Linked DNA regions of Homo sapiens: all the other regions are linked to region 3. Evidence: promoter capture Hi-C in 16 types of primary human blood cells and fetal thymus (Javierre and others, 2016). All regions are on one chromosome and are shown on one strand. Each heading gives the region's core, a stretch centred on a gene start or on the middle of the fragment in contact. The rest is flanking DNA. Distances are from core to core; before and after follow the strand shown.

Evidence for each region. The method cuts DNA at HindIII sites, captures the fragments that hold promoters and counts their contacts. A CHiCAGO score of 5 or more calls a contact.
Region 1: a fragment that was not itself captured here is called in contact with the fragment with the promoter of NOM1 in region 3 in 1 of 17 cell types (megakaryocytes); the score reaches 5.9 in megakaryocytes.
Region 2: a contact is called between a fragment that was not itself captured here and the fragment with the promoter of NOM1 in region 3, in 1 of 17 cell types (erythroblasts). The highest score is 5.1, in erythroblasts.

The regions. Positions count from the first base shown.
Region 1 is chr7:157,191,441-157,194,235 of GRCh38, reverse strand. All of the region lies in intron 10 of UBE3C (ubiquitin protein ligase E3C), which reads right to left. It also overlaps the pseudogene RPS27AP12 and the pseudogene LOC777650. Among named protein-coding and RNA genes, the nearest start is that of UBE3C, 54 kb to the right of the region's middle. The HindIII fragment of the contact is 1,259 bases long and covers 681-1,939 here.
Region 2 is chr7:157,145,312-157,148,011 of GRCh38, reverse strand. All of the region lies in intron 1 of UBE3C (ubiquitin protein ligase E3C), which reads right to left. Among named protein-coding and RNA genes, the nearest start is that of UBE3C, 7.7 kb to the right of the region's middle. The HindIII fragment of the contact is 1,878 bases long and covers 375-2,252 here.
Region 3 is chr7:156,948,406-156,951,249 of GRCh38, reverse strand. It overlaps NOM1 (nucleolar protein with MIF4G domain 1), which reads right to left and starts at 1,538. Exons shown (of 11, transcript NM_138400.2): 1 at 526-1,538. The coding sequence starts at 1,512. RefSeq lists silencers at 1,118-1,167, 1,448-1,797 and an enhancer at 1,858-2,386. The HindIII fragment of the contact is 6,978 bases long and covers 1-2,563 here.

The sequences.
Region 1 (2,795 bases), core at 61-2,560, 240 kb before region 3:
GCCCAACTCCTTTTCACTTAACTGAAAACAACCTGTATAATGTATAACAGCCAGCCCCATTTCAAAAAGATTACCAGGGGTAAAACAACTTTTTCATGGGTCAAAATCATCTTCCAAAGAAAATGATTTCTTAAAAGAACTGAACATTGTAAATCAAAGGGCATTGTCCTGTTTTGGATTAACAAAACAGGAAAAAACAACCAAACCTTGTAAAATTATTTGAAATTTTGTTCATATCAGTTCAGTGCCTATAGATGCACATACAAAAACAACTGCCATTTTTGTAAATAATAGTCTTCCAAAATAGAGATTTACGTTAGGAGAGAATTAAACATCCAGGAGGGATGAACAGTATTTCATGTGTGCTATGTAGTGTTTTGCTTCATTGAGAGTCATTTTCATGAATTATTTTTACTACTGCAGTCATCTTAAATTTGTAATCATCTCAAAAAAGATGTCACAATGAACAGACAACCATGTGTGAGGTCAGTCATTTTGCATGATGCATGTAATCAAAAAGTTTCAAATGTCTGCTTACTAATAAAGAATGTTTTCACCAAAAAAAAAAAAAAAAGACAAATTTCTGAAGGTTATTTAGTCTGGGGCTCTACTTCTAAAATGTAAAGAAGTGATATTCTTCTCCCACATAGTGGGATAGATTAAAAATTACTCATTAAGCTTTATTTAGCTGTAACAATCCTATGAGTTAATCAGTAAGCCGGGTCATAAATTCAGGCCAGTTTTCCACGGGGACTCTCTTGAGTTATGAAAGAGAACACAATGGAAGACACTGGCTCCCACACAAGGAGTCAAGGCCACCACAGCATGGCATCCTCTGAGAATTCCCCTCTAAGTCCAGGTGCCACAGGTAAAAGAAACAGCGAGACACCCAATGATCTGTCGAACTCTTATAGCACACAAGTACAAAGGCAATAATTTGTTCTTCTGAAATTTTTCTTTTTAAAAAAATATTACTGGACACTTCTAATGCCATAAAAAGCAATAAAACAGATATATAATAATTTGCATCAGATAATGCAAGATTCAAAATAAATTCCAATGTCCTTACTAATAAAAATTTTAAGGTGTATTTCGTCTGGAGACAAGCTGCTAAAAATTGCTCTTCACAAACTAGGAGCTAAGAGTAGGAGGTAAGCCTTAGACACTCAGGCGCGCTAGCATTCCAGCATTGACACCAGAACCAATTTAAACAGCCAGCCCTTCTTACTGGCAACTGATTTTCTTTAATTAAAAGATTTACAGATTCAAAAAACATACTTTCCCTCATGCTACAGTTTAAATTAAAATGGGGGAAAGTGGCATTCACTACCTCAAATGTCTTCTTTGATAATCCCTTCTTTTTTTTTTTTTTAAGTTCATGTCTTTTATTAACTCATACGCAGTTACTTGTCTTCTGGTTTGTTGAAGCAGTAGTCAGACAACATTTGCCACAATAATGTCTGTCAAAGTGACTTGCCATAAACACTCCAGCACCACATTCATCAGAAGGGCACTCTCGACGAAGGCAGCTCATTTTGTCATTCTCATCCACCTTCTAATACTTCAGGACAGCCAGCTTCCCCTTCTTTCTCTTGCGCTTATTCTTCTTGGGAGTGGGGTAAGACTCCTTCCTTTTCTTAGCACCACCACGAAGTCTCAACACAAGATGAAGAGTAAGCTCCTTTTGAATGTTGTAGTCAGACAGTACATCCATCTTCCAGTTGCTTGCCAGCAAAGATCAGTCTTTGCTGATCAGGAGGAATTCCTTCCTTATCCTGGATCTTGGCCTTTACATTTTCTATCATATCCAAGGGTTCAACCTTGAGGGTGATGGTCTTCCCCGTAAGGGTTTTTATGGAAATCTGCATTTTGGTGGCGGCTCCACCGCAGATGGCGGATCGAAAAGGAAGCCCCTTCTCTTACTATTTCTTAACAAGCTTAAAAGAAAACTTTAAAAACGTGGTAGGGATTTAGAATCACTTTGGTGGAATATGCTTCTTCCAAGTGTACTCATATTTCCCGGGAAACAATTATCATTCACAAATGTTCTAAGAATTCTTAGAAGATTCAGAACTATGAATGATATTGCTGAAGCTGACGAAGGCAAGTCTATTTTATTTATTTGATGTGTCTAACAACAGCTAGTGGAAATTAGTTTATAATCTAGATAGGATTTCAAAATACATTTAATTTTAAGATCACTATGTGCTGAAATGTTTAAAAGCTCATCAATGTTATTTGAACTTCATGAAAGAGAATGCAATTTTTAACATGAATCAATAGCTTATTAATTCTATTGATTATAATGAAAATATCACTGATAATAAAAGCAGCTATGAAATTATAGACAAAATTTACTTCTCTCTCCAGGCACATCCTCAATATTTTTTCCAAAATATTATAAAAACTTGTTTACAAACACATGGACGGTATATATATTTAATTCTACACATACAATGAAAAACAAATCTGTATTTTTCTGCTTTGAAGTCATCTGTGTAATCATTTTATCCCAAATTATTAAAGTATAAGATATGAAGCTATAAATCTCTCAGAGCTAAAGAGCATTCATCCCCACCACATACACCACAGTTCTTAGAAAACACATGGCAAAGAAATGGTTAGAAAACACACGAGGGGCTGGGCGCAGTGACTTGCACCTGCAATCCCAGCACTCTGGGAGGCTGAGGGCTGAGACAAGCAGATTACTTGGGCCCAGGTGTTCGAGACCAGCCTAGGCAACATGGCAAAACCCCGTTTCTACAAAAATTACAAAAAATTAGCCAGGTGTGGTG
Region 2 (2,700 bases), core at 64-2,563, 200 kb before region 3:
AAGACATCACAAAAACACCCTAAATTGATGTCCCTCATCAAAAGAGATGCAAAAATCCTGAACAAAATATCAACAAGCTCAATCTAACATCGTATACAAAGAATTATGCATCACAGTCAAGTGGGATTTATTCCAGATACGCAAGACGGGCTCAATATTCTAAAATGACTTAATGTGATCCATCATATCCACAAGCTGCAGAAGGAAAATCACATAACATTAACAGATACAGAAAAAGCATCTGACAAAACCCAACCTTCATTCATGATAAAATTCTGCAAACTAGGAATAGAGGGGAATTTCCCCAATTTGATAAAGAATATCTACCAAAAAACCCACCAAACATCATACTTCATGATGAGAAACTCAAAGCTTTCCCACTAAGATTAAGAACAAGGCAAGTTCTCACCACTCCTTTTCAACTATAATCCTACCTAATGCAGTAAGACAATAAAACACATTGCTTTCTGATGGTCTTAGAAAAGAAAAAAGAAAAAAAAGGCATACAGATCAGGAAGGAAGAAATAAAACTGTCTTTGGTTGCAAATGAAATGATTATCTGTGCAGGAAATTCCAAGTATCAACCAAAAAACCACTCCTGGAACTAAGAAGTGATTATAGCAAGATTTCAGGACATAAGGTTAGTACATGAAAGTCAATTGCTTCTCTACAAATAAGCAATGAACTGGAATTTGAAACTGAAACACAATACCATTCACATTAGCACCCCTTAAAAATAAACGCTTAGGTATAAATCTAACAAAATAGGTATAAGGTATATATAAGGAAAATTATATAACCAATGAAAGAAATAAAAGAACTAAACAAATTAAGAGATATTCCATATTCATGGATAGGAAGGCTCAACACTGTCAAGATTTTAGTTTTTCCCAACTTGATCTACCAATTCAGCACAATCCCAATCAAAATTCCACAGGTTTTTTTTGTGAATATCAACAAACTGACTCTTATGGAGAGGCAAAAGATCCACAATAGCCAACACAATACTAAAGAAGAAGGAAGTCGAAGGACTCACACTACCAGACTTCAATGCTTACTATGGTTGGGCGCGGTGTCTCACTCCCGTAACCCCAGCACTTTGGGAGGCTGAGGCAGGCGGATCACTTCAGGTCAGGAGTTCAAGACCAGCCTGGCCAACATGGTGAAATCCAGTTTCTACTAAAAATACAAAAATTAACCAGGTGTGGTGGCACATGCCCACCCAGCTACTCAGGATGCTGAGGCAGAAGAACCACTTGAACCCAGAAGGCAGAGTTTGCAGTGAGCCGAGGTCACAACACTGCACTCCAGCCTGGGCAACAGGAGGCTCCCTCTCAAATTAAAAAAAAGTTTAGTTTAATATATATACTAAGTAGTACAGTTTACTACAGATCTGTTACAGTAATCAAGATGGTATGGTATTGACAAAAGGGAGAGAGATCAATGGAGGAGAGAATAAAGCCATAACAGAGCTTAGAAACAGATCGTAAAGGCCGGACGCAGGGGCTCATGCCTGTAATCCCAGCACTTTGGGACGCCCAGGCGGGCAGATCACGAGGTCAGGAGTTCGAGACCAGCCTGACCAACATGGTGAAACCCCCGTCTGTACTAGAGTAGCCAGGTGTGGTGGTGCACACCTGTAATCCTAGCTACTCGGTAGGCTGAGGCCGGAGAACTGCTTGACAGAGGTTGCAGTGAGCCGAGATTGCGCCACTGCACTCCAGCCTGGGAGACAGAGCGAGACTTCGTCTCAAAAAAAAAAAAGAAATAGATCCATAAAAATATAGCCAACTGATCTTTGACAAAGGAGCAAAGGCAGGCATTCAATGGAGTTGGGGAATGTCTTTTCAGAAATGGTGCTAACTGGACATCCACAAACAAAAAAACTTCAAAAATTAAAAATCTAGACACAGATTTTATATCCTTCACATAAATTAACTCAAAATGGATCAGAGACCTAAATGTAAAATACAAAATTATAAAACTACTAGAAAATACGAGAAAATCTAGGTTACCTTGGCTTTGGTAATGACTTTTTAGACACAACGCGAGAAGCAAGATCCATGAAAAAAACACTGGTGAGCTGGACTTCATTAAAATTCAATAGTTCTCCAATGTCACAAATGTACCACACAGATACAAGATGTAAATAACAAAGGAAACAGCGTGCAGCGGAGAGGAGGTTTTGAGGACTCTATTATAGTTTCCCATCAATTATTCTGTAAACCGTAAACCACTCTAAAAAAAAAGCTTATTAATTGATAAAAAATAAAGTAAAAAGAAATGAACTGTCAAGCCATGAAAAGAGCCTTAAATGCATAGTACTAAGTGAAAGAAACCAATCTGAAAAGATTACATAGTATATGATTCCAACTATATGACATTCTGGAAAAGGCTAGAGTAGAAACAGTAAAAAGATCAGTGGTTGCCAGGTGTTACAGGGATGGGAGGGATGGATGAATATGCAATGAGGATTTCTTCCTTTTTTCTTTTTTAAAAGAGTATCACTCTCGTCACCTAGGCTGGAGTGCAATGGCGTGATCTCAGCTAACTGCAATCTCTGCCTCTCGGGTTCAAGCAATTCTCCTGCCTCAGCCTCCTGAGTAGCTGCAATTACAGGCACCTGTCACCACGCCTGGCTAATTTTTGTATTTTTAGTAGAGATAGAGTATCACCATGTTGACCAGGCTGGTCTCGAAC
Region 3 (2,844 bases), core at 289-2,788:
TTTTTTGTATTTTTAGTAATGACGGGGTTTCACCACGTTAGCCAGGCTGGTCTCAAACACCTGACCTCAAATGATCTGCCCCGCCTCAGCCTTTATCTTTAATTCAATGTTGGACTTTATCTAAGGGAGTGCTGTAAATTAGCTTCGAGTTTTAGAAAATTCACTCTAAAAGTCGGGCACGGCAGATGTCCTCGGATACTCGAAAGAGGCCTTAACAGATGAGGTAGGGTTAACAGGTTTAGAGACCTGGGCTGGTAAACACAGAATGAAGATGCTGCACTGTGGAAATGGCCCTTAAGTCCCCGGGATAAAAATGTCTCTATATTGCTTTTCTCCTAAACTTTACATTATGAAAATTTAAAAACATGAAAGAAGACCGAATAGAGTAACGTACTCGATTTACTCACATTCAGCTGAAACCATTATCAAGACACCAAGTCTGTGTCATTTCTGCCTCACGCCCCATTCCCTGTCCCGTTATTTTGAAGGAAATCCCAGAGGGCCTAGAGAGTGTTCACACGATACCTTATCCGTTATGTCACCGTCCTCCGAGGAATTTTCACTCTTTTCTTCATCTTCTGCAAAACGGACTCTCTTCCCCCTCCTTTTCTCCTGCGCTCCCTTTTCCTTTTCTTCCCCCTGTTCCTCTTCTGTATCCTCGTCGTCGTCCTCGCTCTGCGCTTCTGCTTCCTGCGCCTTCTTTTCCTTTTCTACGTCTCCCTCCTCCTCCTCCTCACTTTCGTCCTGGGAGTCACTCTCTAAGTCACTTTCGGGGAGTGTCTGTCCGGCATCTTCCTCCTCCTCACCACTGCTGTCGTACAAGCCGCTATTTTTCCCAGACTCCAGGGCTCCCAGAATATAGTCAAGACCGTCGCGTGCAAAGCTCAGCGGCACGGAGCTGCTGCCGTCCTTCTTTTTGCGCTTGTTCAAACCGAGGCAACGCTCCAGCTTTCGGATCTCTCGGTCCTCCTCCTCGTTCGCCGCTAAAAGCGCCCGTTTCCGGGCAGCGGCGGTGGCGGCTGCGGAGGGTCTGGTCTTTGCGGTGGCGGCCGTGGCCTTGGCCTTGACCCGGGACGGCCGCGGCTTCCTGGGAGGCGAGGGGTCCCGACTAGGGGCTGGGCGGGCGCGCTCCTCCGTGTCCTGCCGGTGACCGCTGGCTTCTTCGGCTCCGCTTCGGCCTCCCAGGCCGGGACCCTGTTCGGGGCCCGCCGTCCTCTGCAGCCGGCGTGCTTTCCGCAGGTGCCGCTTCTCCTTCCTCAGTTCCTTACGGCTTTTTCTCCCTCCCGGGCGAAAGCTCACCGGGGCGCCGCGCCCCTCGCAACCCCCGGGAGCCTCGCCTTCCGAAGTCGCGTGCACGAACTCCTCCACCGCTAGCTTCAGCCTCTTCAGGGCCTTCTCCCCACCGCCAGCAGGACCGCGGCGCGGCCCGCGCCCGCCTCTGCGCTTCATGCGGACCACGCGTCCCTGGGAGCCGCCCGGGCCGGCCTCTCCCGCGCTCCTGGACGCCGCCATCTTTCGAAACGCGTGGACGCACGACTTCCGGCCGAGGCGGGACTTCCGGGGAAGAGGCGGCTGCGCGGGGCGGGCGGGCGGCGCCCCCTGCTGGCCGGAGGGCGACAGCGTGCAGAGCTGCGCGGAGCCGGGTGCGGGGGCAGCCGGGCAGGTGGCGCCCGGGGCAGGCGCGCCCGCGGGTGGGCGCCGCGTGGACGTCAGGCTCGCGATGAGCATGGAGGTGCCTTCACATTTAAAAGGGAAATCCGGCCGGGCGCGGTGGCTCACGCCTGTAATCCCAGCACTTTGGGAGGCCGAGACGGGTGGATCACCTGAAGTCAGGAGTTCGAGACCAGCCTGGCCAACCTGGTGAAACCCACCCACCCCCCTACAAAAATTAGCTGAGCGTGGGGGCACGCGCCTGTAATCCCAGCTACTCGGAGGCTGAGGCAGGAGAATCGCTTGAACCACGGAGGCGGAGGTTGCAGTGAGCCGAAATGGCGCCATTGCACTCCAGCCTGGGCGACAGAGCGAGACTCCAAAGGGAAATCCTCGCGTATGATGGAGGGGAGACTCCGCGCGGGTCGGCGCGGTGCCGGAGGTTGGCGGCGGCGACGACGCTGGGATGCGCGGGCCCCAGGTTCGTGTCCGCCCAGGACCCAGGAATGCGACCTTATTTGGAAATAGGGCCTTTGCAGATGTGGTCGAGAGGAGCCCTCGTGGGTTAGGACTGGCCCCAGAGCCAGCGTTCTCCTGAGAAGCAGGCTCTGGATACGGACCAGGGAGACGCCTGTGGCCCCCAGGCGGCCGAGGACCCCTGAGGAGCCGGCCCTGCCCAGGCTGGGTTTGGACGCTGGGCCCCGAGGGCAGAGCGTTTGAGGTTCCTCTTTACTGGGTAACTTGAACCGGGAAGCGAACGCAGAGGCCGCGCAGTTTGCGTCTGGATTTTTGGGAAGCCCGGAGGCGCAGGAGCAGCCTCGCCTAGCAGTGAGCTGGGGGAAGACGGGGCTGCTGCTGTGGGGTTCTCGGCCTGACCAGGGGCCGCTTCTCTTCCCGGACAGCTTCAGAAGCTTCATTTCCACAGAGTTCCCACCCTTGACTTAATTTAATTTAATTTAATTTTTTTTCTTTTTTTTTTCTTGAGACCGAGTCTCACTCTGTTGCCCAGGCCGGAGTGCAATGGCGGACCAAAGTGCTGGGATTACAGGCAAGCCACCGCGCCCGGCCCGTCCTTGACTTTAAAATGATTTAATTTTTGTCAACTTGTCAGCTCAAAATGGCATCTTGTCATTTAGTTCCTGATGAGAGTGGGTGTCTTTGTTCACTGGCCATTTGTATTTCCTCCTCTGTTTA